Regions from separate parts of the Homo sapiens genome. Here all the other regions are linked to region 1. The links are contacts of gene promoters, found by promoter capture Hi-C in blood cells and fetal thymus (Javierre and others, 2016). All regions are on one chromosome and are shown on one strand. The core of a region is centred on a gene start or on the middle of the fragment in contact, and the rest is flanking DNA. Distances in the headings are between cores, read along the strand shown.

Region 1 (3,486 bases), core at 369-2,868:
GGGTGTTTTCCTGCCTTTCTCTGTCTTCTAATTGTGTGTGGATGCGTCTGGACCACAGGCTGGTGTTAGTATCTGCGGAGGAAAGAGGAGCTGTGGCCGCTACACATCAACAGAGGGCACCAGAGAGCCACGCACCTACTTTCAGGGGCAGAAATTGAGAAAACTTGGCGGGGAGTGTTAGAGACCCAGGAGATCTGGGATCTGGGAGGAAAGAAGTGGAGACCTCTTTGGACCAACACATTACTGTAAAATTGTGCAATTCCAGCAACTTCTCTGTCCATTCCCTAGGGTCCAGACCTCTGGCTACCCGAGCAATCCTGTGAGCAGAAGTATCTGGTCAGGGGTGAGAAGAGGAGCTGGTTGCCAAACTGGGCCCTTAAGAAAGTGGAGATCCCTCCTGAATGCTCTCATGATTCTCAGGAATTCCCTTCCTTCCTAGTTCCTCCATGTCCCTACCCCAAAAGATCTCAAACTCCAGCGTGCTTAGAGATCTGACTGGTGGCTGTCTTCTCCTCTGGCTTGCATTCAGGGAGGTGAGGCCAGGTCTTGGCCCTTCAAAGCCATCCAGTTGGCTACCTTCTCCTTCGGGATGGGTGGAAGGCTAAGATGAACAAAGGAAGGGTCAACTGTGCCTCTTCCAGGCCGCTGAGTCCTCCAACGCCTAGCTGTGCTCAACCTTGACTGGGTGAAGCCAAGGCAGGGCCTCAAGGCAGGTCCAAGAGGCAGCTCCCATTCTCCAGTTCTGGGTTTTATAGGTGGGGAGAGGCATGTATGCCCCTCCCTTATCCAAGCATTCATTAGTCAATTGAGAATTCTTAATTTGGGGAATCTAGGGGCTAGACTTTGGGTGTGGAATTTAAAAAGAAAGGTCTTTATGTTTATTTAACTCCCTGCCCCCCACCCCACTCCTAGACACACACACGGAAACACACACACACACACACACACACACACACTCCCCATCACATCCTCTGAGCTAGAGGCTGATGTCCCTCAGCCCATGTTCCTCCTCCACTGCTTAGTTCCATAGCCCGCGACCAAGATTGCGTCTATAAATAGGAGGGGGTGGGGTGGCCAGGGGTCCCGTCGTGCCTGCCCCAGAACCCACGACGGTCACATTTTTCACCCCCTTTTGCCTTTGCCCTCAATTCCTTTCCCTCTTTGCTCTCCTTCCATCTCAGTTCCAGCGAGGGGGGTATGTGTGTGCGCGCGTTGTGGGGGGGCAGGGGGAGGGCTCGTGGAGGGAGGCGCCGTCGGAGGGAGAGTAGACGTCAGGCGGAGGGAGGGAGGCAGGCAGGCAGGGAGGCAGGGAGGGAGAGAGGGAAGGAAGAGAAGGGGAGAGAAAGGGGGAGCAAAGACCGAAAGAGACCCAGAGAGATACAGCTTGAGAGGAGAAATAATTAAAGGGGGAGGGCGACCAGGAGGAGAAAAAGGTCTGGGAGGAAAGAGAGATAAAGAGAATCGGAGGGCAGGGAAATGAGTTTGTGCGCGTGAGTGTGCGCGCGCGCGTGTGTGTGTGCAGGGGCGGGCGCGGGCGGGCGGGGGGCGGGCTCCCGGGCTCCCGGGCTCCCCTCCTCCCCAGCCCGCTCCTCTGGCTCGCTCGCCAACTCCGGGCCCCAGCCGCGGGCGGGCGCACGGCGGGCGGACAGCATGCTGAGCCTCCTCGTCTGGATCCTCACTCTCTCCGATACTTTCTCCCAAGGTAAGGGCCCCCAGCCCACCCCCGGACGCTCGGCTTCCCCCCGGGGCCGGGGCACTGCTTCCCCGGTGGGAGAGTGCTGGAGTGCCCCGCGGCCCGCGGCCAGTCCCCGGGTCCGGACGCCACGAGGCGGGGGCTCGGTCCGGGCGCAGAGCCCTGGGGGAGGGGGCGCGGAGTAACGAGGGGCTGGGGAGAATGAGTTTGCCGTTGATTTGCCCAAGTTGTTTCCTCTGGCTGCGCGGGAGAACCGAGCAATGGGGCCGCGAGGGCTGGAGGTCCGAGTAAAACGGGGAACCGAACGCTTTCTCTTGAGCTTCTGGCAGCCCTACCGACCCTCGCCCTCTGAGGCCGGGGTTCCGGACGCCTGAGTCCAGCCTAAGGGCAAGGCTGGGAAGAGGGTGGGATTTCGGATTTCGGGCGAGGGGGTGAGCGAAAAGCTGGGTCCCACCTCCCGAAGATGTTGCCAAGGGGATCCCCCTACTCCAGCCCAGCCCCTCGGGGGTCTGAGTCTGAATCACGGCTCCAGCCTGCCTGGGGCTGCCCCCTCTAGAGGAAGGGAGGGGTGTCTCGGCGCCTCTAGTGGGGATTTGGAACCCCTGCCCACGGAGGCTCTGGGTGGAGAGTGGAGTTCCACATACAGCTTCAGGCCCGCTTGATACAGAGGGGGGGAACTCACGGGGGCGGGGGCAGAGGCGGTGGGGGGAGGGGGCTGACACTCTACTTGGGCTCAGGAAAGTGTTGCTGTCTGGGGCTTATTTGACACTGGCAGGGGAGAGGCTGGGAGGTGAGGGAGGTGGTTGGGAGAGATGAGGATGTCAGTGTATCCTGGGCAGGGCTGGGGTTGGGGGAGGGAAGAGGGCTGAGGGAACCAAGGGTCCAGACTGCAGCAGGGACTGGGGTCTGTGGGAGTTGGTTCTTGCCTCCCAGGTCTGACTCTAAGGAAGACTGAATCCTGCTGAACTCCTTCCCTCCCCAAAAATGGAGCTGACACACAGAAATTGACACACAAACACCGTAAAACACTCACAGACACTGAGACAGACTACTCACCTACTGAGAGAGAGACATCCCCACAAACATCCCCCACACTGAGACAGACACATATACACAAAGACACGGAGACATCTGAGGAAGACAGATTCCTCCCCCAGATCGGCACACACTCACGCATTCATCCACCCGAACGTTACAACTATACACAGTACATGTATGCAGGCGTTTACAAGGACAGGACACACGCTCTCACAGAAACCAACCCTCTAGCAAACAAAGAAACTTGAACAGACATTCATATGGGCAGACACCTATGGAGATGTACAGACTGCAGATGGAGGAGGTGTCCTCTTTTAGGGGGTGTCTGGGAATGGATCTGGGTAGAACAGCCTCAGGCATTATTGCCCTGCTTTCTGTTCCCTTCCTGCGTTTGTAGGTGGTGTGTTATGCTGGACCTTTCCTCTCCTTGTCGGGTCTCTTCCCAGTTCCGAAGGCAAAGCCTGGCTGAGTTGGTGGGGGCACGTCTTGATTCATTTCTCCCCACAGGGCACCCATGCCAGCCCCCCAGCACACACTATGATATGGGAAGGGCACACATCTGTGGTGTGAGCCAGGAGTGGGAGGTGGTGCTAGGGGAAAGGAGGAGGCCTGGCCCTGGGGTTGGCAGGCCAGGCCAGCCACTTGGCAGAAAGTTGGGAAGATGACTTAAGTTCTGACTTTGTTCAGCCAGGCTGTTGGTGTCGGGGAGGAAGGGGGTGGGCCATGGTGGTGGTGGAGGGGGGTCATGTTGGTGG
Region 2 (3,486 bases), core at 295-2,794, 1.1 Mb after region 1:
AGAAATAATGATAACACTCTATTAGGTTGGTGCAAATGTAATTGCAGTTTTTCCCATTTAAAAGTAATGGCAAATGCCACAGCTACTTGTGCACCAACCTAATACTAATATTTCATAAATTGGGTGGTAGGTACATAGCTATTCATTGAGCTGGTGTACTTTTACATCTTAAACATGTGCTTAAAAGTATTCTGTATGCAGTATTCAACAATTTTAAGAAATCAAGGCCAGGTGCAGTGGCTCATGCCTGTAATTCCAGCACTTTGAGAGGCCGAGGTGGGTGGATCACTTGAGGTCAGGAGTTCGAGACCAGCCTGGCCAACATGGTGAAACTTTGTCTCTACTAAAAATATAAAAACTTAGCTGAGCTTGGTGGCGTGCACCAGTAATCCCTGCTACTCGGGAGGCTGAAGCTGGAGAATCGCTTGAAACTAGGAGGCAAAGGTTGCAGTGAGCCAAGATTGCATTACTGCACTCCAGCCTGGGCGACAGAGCGAGACTCTGTCTCCGAAGAAAAAATGAAAAGAAAACAAATCAAATGTTCTCACTGAATTTTTTTAAGTATTGGTAACTTGACATACCATACAAATTTTTTGCAATGATTTATGAAATTTACATTTTAAAAATCAACTTTCCAAAATTGAGAATGTCATTTTACCTTTTTGCTTTGTATGTCTAATTTATTTGGGGCCAATTATTCTTAGTCTAGGCTGCTTATGCGAAAAAGGTAAAAAAAAACCCTGAATATCAAAAAAATTATTATTTCTTTTATTAAGCCCATTTCTTTTTGTCTCTGTTACAAAAGCGGGCAATTTAAATCATTACTGAAAAAAAATCCAGAAAATGTAGCCAAACAAAAGCAGACAAAGAACAACACTCATAATCCCATCATCCAGAGAGAGAAGCACTACAGGTATTAACTCTTCTGCAGAAATCCCTTCAGATCATTTTCATTGCTATCCGTAAATTAATATAATTATGGAAAGTGTTTATTTTTGTTGTACATGCTTTATCATCAAGCATTATAGTCAGTCTAAATCAAAAGGAAGAAAACATTTAAATCTATCCCTTCTCTCTGTCTCTGTATCCTAAGGGATTTGTGAAATGATTCAGCCATTTCCCCGAGGCAGAAAAAAAAATAAAGCATGATAGAGAATAGTTTTTGTTACAAATGTCAACTCGAATCAATTTGGTAGTGGTTGCATGTACTTGAGCCATGAATTCTCAGTACTGAGGGCTCAGGAAGAGAAAGGTGAAGTAAGAGCATTGAGACCTTGTATCTGCCACCCGGGCCTACAGGGCCTCTGCTTATGTGACAGCTGTTACCTCTGTTTCCCCAGCTACGTGCTCAAGAATGCTCTCTGCTATGTTCTGCACTTTTTTCTGGACCTTCCTCCTTTGCTGAAAGATACCTAGTTTACTCTGTCTGATATAGAAAATGTATGTAAATTAAGAATTTTAAGGTACCACGTTTGTCTTGAAGTGAAAAAAAAATACTCTTAAAATATTATAAAGGATGCTTGGAAATCTGTAGTGGTTAGAAGTATTTAACATTTTAGTCTCTTAATTGGCAATATCATACATTGTATATTATCAAGAGTTCCCTAAGAAGGTAAGACCACTGAAAAGGAGAGCCTCAAAATTTCAATTCAATGCTTTATACTGGTGACTATGGATGTTCATTTTTCATTTCAGGGATATTATAGTGAAAGGAGGGATCAAATTGAGAAGAAATTGCAAAGAGTATGGAATTAGACTAGGGTCTCATATATTAAATCTCAATAAAATTTGAGACATCACATAATAAAGGTCCATTTTCATAAAATCTCATGTTACCACAAGCCAGATTATAAGCTGTCTTGGTAGAGTACATCTGGGCTTTGGGATGACTCCACTACCAGAGACAAGGGTGCTGGTTCCTGATTCAACATAAACACAATGCTACTGTAGGCTGAAAAGATCCTTCTTTAATTAGTTGTCCCAGCCTTCTCCTTTGTGCTTCAAGACAGGCAACTTTGTGTAGTAGAAAAAGCAGACACTTAAAACATTTTTAATGCATCTTCAAATCCTACTTCATTCACTAGCTAGTTGGCCTTGGGAGGGTTACTTAGCCTCTCTCTCTCTGATTCTTGTCTGTAAAATAAAAATATAATGCCTATCTTGCAGTAATGTTGTGAAAAGAAACAGGATAATGTGTGAATCACCTAGCACAATGAATAGCTCATAGTCTGAGCTTAATAAATGTTGGATGTGTCATGTATACCAGGGGAATAATAATATAGTATTTAATAAGTAAATTGCTATTTATTTTCATTTTAAAAATTTTATGGATTTTGGTGCTCTATATATCCACGGGCTCCTTTTCCAGCTTTAAGAGACAATTTAAATTTATTTCTTTGTAAGACTGCCTCTCTAAACTTTTCATAATTTCTGTGGCTTGCCATTTCTTTCCTGAGGTATGATCATAGACAGAATTGCAAAAGGCACTCTCAAGGCAGACACACCATGGCTCAGTAGACTCAGAGCTGGGACCAACCAGAAGAAGAATGCCTGTAACTATTTGTAGGTACCAGCAGGCTGGAGAGCACAGGTATGACATGGGCTGCTTCAAGACTTAGAGGTAACTTTCATTCCCTGAGGGTGAAGGATGATGGGGGGAATGGGGGGTATACAGAGACTAAACTGGCCTTTAGCGACAAAAACAAACAAAAAGTATTCCCTTCATCCTTCGATATTGTCACCTGCTTGTGATCTAGGTGATTTCCTACTCATTAGGTTGCTCTGAGATTTAGGCAGCTCCAAGGCACAGAAAATCTGGGATTGTAAAAAAGAAAATAAAGTCGGGAAGTAGGCAGATCCCTACCTCTCTTTCACCCCTACAAGGGCATGAATTCTTGAGCTGCAGGAGACAGAAAAGTCTGAATTCTGCCCCAGTCTCAGGCAAACCGCTAAGTCTTGTAACTGTGTAGTCTCTGAGACCTGACATTCCTTACTAGCCACTGTGCCAATACATCAGATTCTCAGCCCCTGCTCAGGATGAAGCCCTTTCACATACATATTTTATGTCATTTTAACAATAAAATTAGGAAATATCTCCCCAAATTTCATAACAGAATAAATTAGAAGGAATTAGAAGCAGAGGCTTCTAACTCCAAGGTGAATTATTGTCCCCTGGGCCATAGCTACATCCTCCCACTCTTTATTCCTTCCAGTCCCCTCACCTCCCAGCCTGCAACCCAAAATATTATCTTTAGGAAACTTTCACCAAATGTGGACACACACAATTTCACAGCCATAATGAAGAGCAGAATTATGCTAAGAACAGAGAGATAGTACAAGATAGTACAAGTAATTATACAGTAGGCAATCCAAGTGAGAATGGATTTTGGAACCAGAATGCCTGGGCTCACATCCTCATTTCTCCACTTAACTGAGTTATCTGAGTAATCTTGGTCAAGTCCCTTCCCCTTCTATGTTTAAATTTCC
Region 3 (3,486 bases), core at 325-2,824, 1.1 Mb after region 1:
AGGAGAATTATTTGAACCTGGGAGGTGGAGGTTGCAGTGAGCCAAGATCGCGCCATTGCACTCCAGCCTGGGCAACAGGAGCGAAACTTCATCTCAAAACAACAACAACAACAACAACAAAAAGGAAACAGGATACATTTTCCTGTTATTTTTAAAATAGATTTATCGAGGCATAACTGGCATACAACACGGTGCATACACTGGAAGTATACAATCTGATAAATTTTGGCATATACATATACCTGATGAAGTGCAATTAATCAATCTGTTCTTTCATGGATCATGCTTTCAGTGTCTTATTTAAGAAATCTTTTCCAATCTCAAGATTAGAAGATTTTATGTCTTCCTGTAAGAATTTTACGGTTTGATCATTTCACATTTGGCTGTATGTACTGCTTTGAGTTAATTTGTATATGATATAAGTGATGATTCAAAGTTCATTTATTTTTCATATGAATATGAATTTTCCCAGAATCATATGTTAAAAAGACTGTCATTTTTAATGATTTTTTTTTTTACCTTTGCAAAAATCAGTTGTCCAAATATGAGTGAGTCTATTTCTGGATTCTTTATTCTGTCCATCAACCTATTTTTGTAACTTGTTGCCAAAATCACGTTGTAGTAATATAGTTGTTTATGTATAGTATCCAAAATAATACACAAAACATTATAAATAATAATTCAACAGTTTATAACTATAAGATTAATATACAGAAATGCATTCCTTTATTTTAGTACCACTCCAAGAGAGAAAAAAATTACATAAAAAAAGTAATTTCCAATAGCAACAAAACTACAAAGTACATAAGAACATCGAATACAATATATTTAAGAGTTTTAAAGGGAAACTTATAAAACTTTATTGGGAGATTTAAAGGACCTACTTAAGTGGGTGTATGTCTGATATTTTAAATGGGAAGATTTGATAAAATGAAGACAGCAGTGTTGTCAAATTAATCTATAAACTCCTATCCAAAATCTCAAAGGGTTTTTCATAGAATTTATCAGAATGATCCTAAAACCTAAATGAAAAAAATAAAGACAAAAACCTGCAAAACAAGTTGAATATGTTTATCAGGATGTACTATCCCTACTACTAGGTATCAATACTTACTACAAATGTATAATTATTAAATCAGTATGGCAGTGGCGTAGAAAAAAATGAACTAATAAATAGAGTGTGGAAACAGGACCACATGTAAATTAAAGCTTGGTATATAATCAAAGTGGCATTAAAAATCACAAGGAAAGAATGGCCAACTATAAAAAGTGTTCAGACAAATGACAATACACAGGGAATGATATATTCAGCCTTTCTCTTATATCATACACAAAATATATATCTGGTTGGATTAATTATCTAAATAGAATAGTAATGATGTTGAATAAAACACAGAATTTCTCAATACATTGAAGTAGAAGGAGGTTCCTTAAATAAGGCACAAAAAGGACAAGCCAGAAAAAAAAAATTTGTCAAATGTGATTGCATGCATATTCTCAATTTCTTTGTAGGAAACACACACATCCGTGCACACACACACACTAAACAAAGTGATTATACAAGGCAAAAACTGGGCAGATACCTGCAATACACACACACACACACACACACACACACACACACACACACATATATATATGGCTATACCTGCTATATATATATATATAGAGAGAGAGAGAGAGAGAGAGAGCTAATAGAGGTTTTGCTTTTGGAATACATGGAGAACCATGTATCAATAAGAAAACAACAGTCTATTTGAAAAGTGTGCAAAAGATGTGAATGAGCAATTTGCTCAAATATCCAATAAACATAAAAAAGATGTTTGACATTATTAGCAATTAATGACTTCCAGAGCAGCAACATATAAAGTGGAAGAAATAAGCCAAAGAACAGGAAAAGATGTTTATGAGCTGAAAATAACTGATTGTGAATTTTAGGGAAGCTTGAATACCCCCATCAGTAGAGTCAATGTTAATAAATTCTAAACTATCACTGTTAATGGCCTTATAATGTTTTTTCCTATATGTTGGTAAGCGCTGGAGAAACTCTACTTATACATGTAGAGTTCATGAGTGAAAATTAAAACTATTATCAGGACCATTTTCAAAATAAGGAATACATTAAAAATATTTGCAATGATAAAGCCATCCAAATGCCCCCATCCTACTGATGAAAGCAAGGAAGGACACTACCTTTGTTGAATATCTACTGTGACAATCAGCTTGGATGATTCCTACTTTTCTACTTGTCCATAAGAAGCTAATCTTCCTATAACCCTCTTATATAATAACAATCACATTTTAATCACATTTTATGTGATTGACTCAGTTTTTTCTCTGAAGTTATGTTGCCTTATAAATGAAAAACTTGCATTTTACTTCATAATATCTGTTAACTTAAAAAATGCTTGTATTTGCTATTGGCATAAAAGTCAGCCTTACAAATAGGCTGATAGACAAACCCCAAAGGAAGCCGAAGCTTAAGGAACACCAGCTCAGAGACACCAGAGGACATGGCTAAAGTGAATAAAAGAGAAATGAACCCATCCTTTCAGAGCTGATGTCCATGTTTGCAGGTTCAGGTTCTCAGAGGTGTGCACAGCATGGCTGGCCTTTCCTCAGTTGTCTTTTTCAGCAGAGAAACGGTTAAGTCTCTCGTCTCTAACCCAGCTCCTCTATGGTGCTTACCTCCTGATCCCTGGGGCGATCAGCAAACCGGGTCTGCCACCTTCTTTTCAGAGAGCTTAACTAGCAGAGGACTCAGGAGAGCATGCCCAAATAACCTAGGTGACTTTCAAAGCTACAAAGACTCTGACACTTCTGGACGGCTTCACATGTACCCCTAATAAACACTTCCCTTCACCCCCAGGCCCAGTGTGGGTAGGAGTGACAACTGGAGCTCTAATTGGCTGAGCTGGTTTGGGTTCTCACTAGCAGCCACAGAAGAAAATGTCTATAGAAACTTGTATCTGAGTCATGCCACATAGGAACTACACTGATTGGAAACAGAAAGTGGCCTAGAAACTGTAAAAAATGACCGCAGATGACTTCTTGATACACTTTGTGACTAAGGGGCCTGGTGATGACATTTTTCTGGTATAAACAAGCACACTGATCTCAGAGGGTATCTAAAAGTGTTGCCAGTAGGGCAGTGCAGGTTCTTGTCTTCAAAGCATAAGAGAATCTGAAAATGAGACCCAAGCGAAAGTATAGACATTTTATTGTGGAGCAAAACCAACGACACCCTCAAGGGAGGAGTGCAGGCACTCAAAGATTTGAGTCACAGGCAATGTGGTTCACGTACTATATGAATAAGCACAATGAAGGTATGGAGTACTCTGTAATCAAGGGGAGGGGTTTTCTGGGAAATGGGCGGGCAATTCCCGGAATCGGGGTGCCACCCTTTTCTTGACTAAAGATGGTTAATCCGGAACTGTCATGGCGTCAGGTGCATGATGGGAGTGGGAATTTCCCCATGGAAGTTTT
Region 4 (3,486 bases), core at 248-2,747, 1.0 Mb after region 1:
CTATAATGTGTTTTTGTATAGATTTTCCCTTCATTCTCTGGACCTTTTCAGTCCAAGGATCCTCATGTTCTCGTAAGAAGGAAGCTTTTTTTTTTTTTTTTTTTTTTTTTTGACGGAGTCTCACTCTGTCACCCAGGCTGGAGTGTAGTGGCACGATCTCCGCTCACTGCAACCTCCGTCTCCTGGGTTCAAGCAATTCTCCTGCCTCAGCCTCCCGAGTAGCTGGGACTGCAAGCGCTTGCCACCACACCTGGCTAATTTTTGGTATTTTTAGTGGAAACGAGGTCTCACTGTGTTAGCCAGGATGCTTTTGATCTCCGGAACTTGTGATTCGACCACCTCGGCCTCCCAACATGCTGGAATTACAGGCGTGAGCCACTGCGCCTGGCCCAATTAATAGCCCCTGAAATTTAGATATCTTGGTTATACACAAAGACATCATTCCTAAAATTAAAAAATTCATTAATTTAAAAGTTTTGGAATCCATACCTTGCACTGTCATCATGGAAGTGTACAGGTGTTAAGAGGTCAAGAGCAGTGACACTCTGTCCATAGGGAGACTCTGAAATCTACCATGAGACAAAGCCTCAGTTGAGTCTTAAGGTTGTATGGGAAGTAGTCAAAGAAAGAAATGTGGGAATGGCTTTCCAGGCAGTAAGAAGGAACTAGCAAAGTCATGAGGCATGAAGACACAAGGTGTCCGGCATCTTTGTGAAGCATAGATACAAGGAGTACAAAGGTACTAGAAGTAAAAAAGATGCAGCTTATTCAACACTTTCTGAGACAGTATAGGAAGCAAGGAATTTTGGGGAAGAAAAAGGAGAAATATTGAAGGATTTCAGTGGAATATAAATGTGGCTTATCGAGAGAAAACTGATTGTGCGAAAAGAAATAATTAGACAAATCAAGTCTGAAAGAAGAAAAATAAAACAACCAATAAAATCATTTCAGTGAATAAATACTGTGATGCTGCACTAGAAAGCATGCAGATTTTCAGCAAAGTTATGGTTTTATGGGTACAGAGAACAGAAGCCATGGTCTAGCACCAAAGAAGGGAGGATGCTAATGAAAGCCAACTAGGGAAGAGTCAAGGAGAATAGGGTCAGTGCCACAGCATGAAACTGTAGCGCTGTAGCAGAAAGTTATTCATATAAGGTGGGAGGCTGCAGCCCATTTACACCTAGGCCGCTCCAGTCATACTGGGTGTGGGAAGATTTAAGAAACAACAGGCAGGATTTGGGGAATAGGCTTCAGCCCCAGTAAAGGATAAGAAGAGGAACCAAGGGCTTTGACACTGCAGAGCTCATACTCTTAACACTGAGGCAATTGCTTGTTCTCAGACCTCCCTCTAACAACTGGACCCAACTCAACTATTCTCATTCAATGGGAATAATTTCTTAGACATTCCTAACCCAGCAGTTCTTCACTCAATTTCTACAGTAACACATTTGGTCGTTGAGTCCTTCTTTATCACACATATTCATGAACAACTCTTTCATATGGGCCACTCACTCACATAGGCATACATCTTTTAAATTGTCTGTATACATGTGTAACACTGTATATACCATTTTCTCTTGTAGGCTCACTTATGTCTGTAAAGATGGGAAAAAAATACAAGAACATTGTTCTACTAAAAGGATTAGAGGTCATCAATGATTATCATTTTAGAATGGTTAAGTCCTTACTGAGCAACGATTTAAAACTTAATTTAAAAATGAGAGAAGAGTATGACAAAATTCAGATTGCTGACTTGATGGAAGAAAAGTTCCGAGGTGATGCTGGTTTGGGCAAACTAATAAAAATTTTCGAAGATATACCAACGCTTGAAGACCTGGCTGAAACTCTTAAAAAAGAAAAGTTAAAAGGTAATTGGGAAGAGGGAACACCCACTCCCTGCAACCATCCCCAAACCCTCCCCAACATTGATTAGAGCCCCACCTCGGACATACTTGAGATGTGTTTTCCCCAGTTTGTGACTCAACAGCTGAGACAATGTTGGTACTTCAGAGGCCAACAAGTTGACAACTTAGTGCATTCCATTACTGGTGTAGATTGAAGTATTTCAGAATGTATATTTGGGATCAGTGAAAGAACAAAAGTGAGAGGGAGTTGAAGGGGGACTGAGACTTCCAGTACATTAGAAAGATTATATAATAATAAAATCATAAAAACTGTTTAAATTCAAGATATGTACATTTAGCCAATGAATGTATCTGTTCTATTGAGACCATTTAACCCATCACTACCCTTTATAATTTAAAAAAATGCAATACTTACATGTGAGCCTGCCTCTCAGAAGTGTGATCTCCTCTCTTGTTATATCAAGTTAAAAAAAAGGATTTGAAAAAGTCTAAGTCCAAAATCAGTATATCCTTCCTCATGGAAACCTTTGGCTGGTTTCTATAATTTGAATATCTTTACCTGGGGAATGTGACCTAGCAGTCTCCATCATGAAAACATTAGTTTTTAAAACAAAATGATCGGAGAACCGCATTGGGAAAGGGTTAACTGAAGCACATGGAGTTCAGAGAACAGGAAGCATGTGCTCAGTGCACAGGGGAGGAGTGAGGAAAGTGCTGAGGAGCATGAGTCAGTGCTTGTTCCTGTCTTGTGACTGCTGGTCTCCTTAAGGCCAGGCTGGGCTAATGCAGTAGAGCTAGACTAAAGCACAGCTGAACCCTCAAGCAGGAACTGAGAGCAAATTGTATTGAAACTGCTTCAGCTGTCGGAGATCGTTTATATGTCTTCCTTTTTTCTGCATTGGTTGGGAATAAAATTGAATCTATTCCAGTAAAAGGACCAGCCCTATCAAGAAAGAGGAAGAAGGAAGTGGATGCTACTTCACCTGCACCCTCCACAAGCAGCACTGTCAAAACTGAAGGAGCAGAGGCAACTCCTGGAGCTCAGGTAAGCTTCAGGAAGAGGAGCAGGCTTCAAGTCCCACAGAGGAAGCTCTGCTACGGCTCTTCCACTCAATCTCTCCAGCAGGCAGTTATTTCTTCATGTTTCCCATCAAGTTTCAGATTTACCAAATTGTATGATAATTGATCATCTTATTGATGCTCAAAGCAATGCACCAAACACATGAGTAAACATAATGTAAATATATATAACATAAATGTGATACCTTCATTCTAGTAGAGTGGAGTGTCAACGTGAGAATCAGGTAAGTACTTTGTCCATGTGTATAAAAACCTAGTTTCTCTAATCCCAAGTCAGCACATCCCATAACAGAAATAATTAGAGAAATAATGTGTATAACATTCTCCTCTTTCTTCGTTTAATGAAACCATCTATGCCCATCTCTTAAACTGGCGAGAGATGGGCAGCAACCTCTCAAGTTTCCAAGAAACATCTTCTTAGGAATAATAAAACTACTATCCAATAATGAAAATGTGCTCTACTTCATTTGGCACTGAAAACGAATAACAGGAAAATCAAACCACTTTCAGAAAAGAAAAAAATCAACCAAAGAAAAGGCTG

The links. Contacts are between HindIII fragments. The CHiCAGO score rates a contact against its expected background, and 5 or more counts as called.
Region 2: a contact is called between a fragment that was not itself captured here and the fragment with the promoter of KIRREL1 in region 1, in 1 of 17 cell types (activated CD4 T cells). The highest score is 5.3, in activated CD4 T cells.
Region 3: a fragment that was not itself captured here is called in contact with the fragment with the promoter of KIRREL1 in region 1 in 7 of 17 cell types (fetal thymus, naive CD4 T cells, endothelial precursors and 4 more); the score reaches 18.0 in fetal thymus.
Region 4: a contact is called between a fragment that was not itself captured here and the fragment with the promoter of KIRREL1 in region 1, in 1 of 17 cell types (fetal thymus). The highest score is 7.5, in fetal thymus.

The regions. Positions count from the first base shown.
Region 1 is chr1:157,992,027-157,995,512 of GRCh38, forward strand. It overlaps KIRREL1 (kirre like nephrin family adhesion molecule 1), which reads left to right and starts at 1,619. Exons shown (of 15, transcript NM_018240.7): 1 at 1,619-1,702. The coding sequence starts at 1,651. The HindIII fragment of the contact is 5,747 bases long and covers 1-3,486 here.
Region 2 is chr1:159,094,190-159,097,675 of GRCh38, forward strand. It overlaps a transcript of AIM2 not described here. Among named protein-coding and RNA genes, the nearest start is that of AIM2, 19 kb to the left of the region's middle. The HindIII fragment of the contact is 6,509 bases long and covers 1-3,486 here.
Region 3 is chr1:159,073,945-159,077,430 of GRCh38, forward strand. AIM2 (absent in melanoma 2) reads right to left here and starts at 2,822. Exons shown (of 6, transcript NM_004833.3): 1 at 2,689-2,822. RefSeq lists an enhancer at 3,264-3,486. The HindIII fragment of the contact is 734 bases long and covers 1,208-1,941 here.
Region 4 is chr1:159,013,078-159,016,563 of GRCh38, forward strand. It overlaps IFI16 (interferon gamma inducible protein 16), which reads left to right. Exons shown (of 12, transcript NM_001376587.1): 2 at 1,584-1,868; 3 at 2,795-2,910; 4 at 3,456-3,486. The coding sequence starts at 1,604. It overlaps LOC124904432 (a long non-coding RNA gene), which reads right to left and starts at 973. Exons shown (of 2, transcript XR_007066671.1): 1 at 490-973; 2 at 1-403. RefSeq lists an enhancer at 1,940-3,139. The HindIII fragment of the contact is 2,831 bases long and covers 83-2,913 here.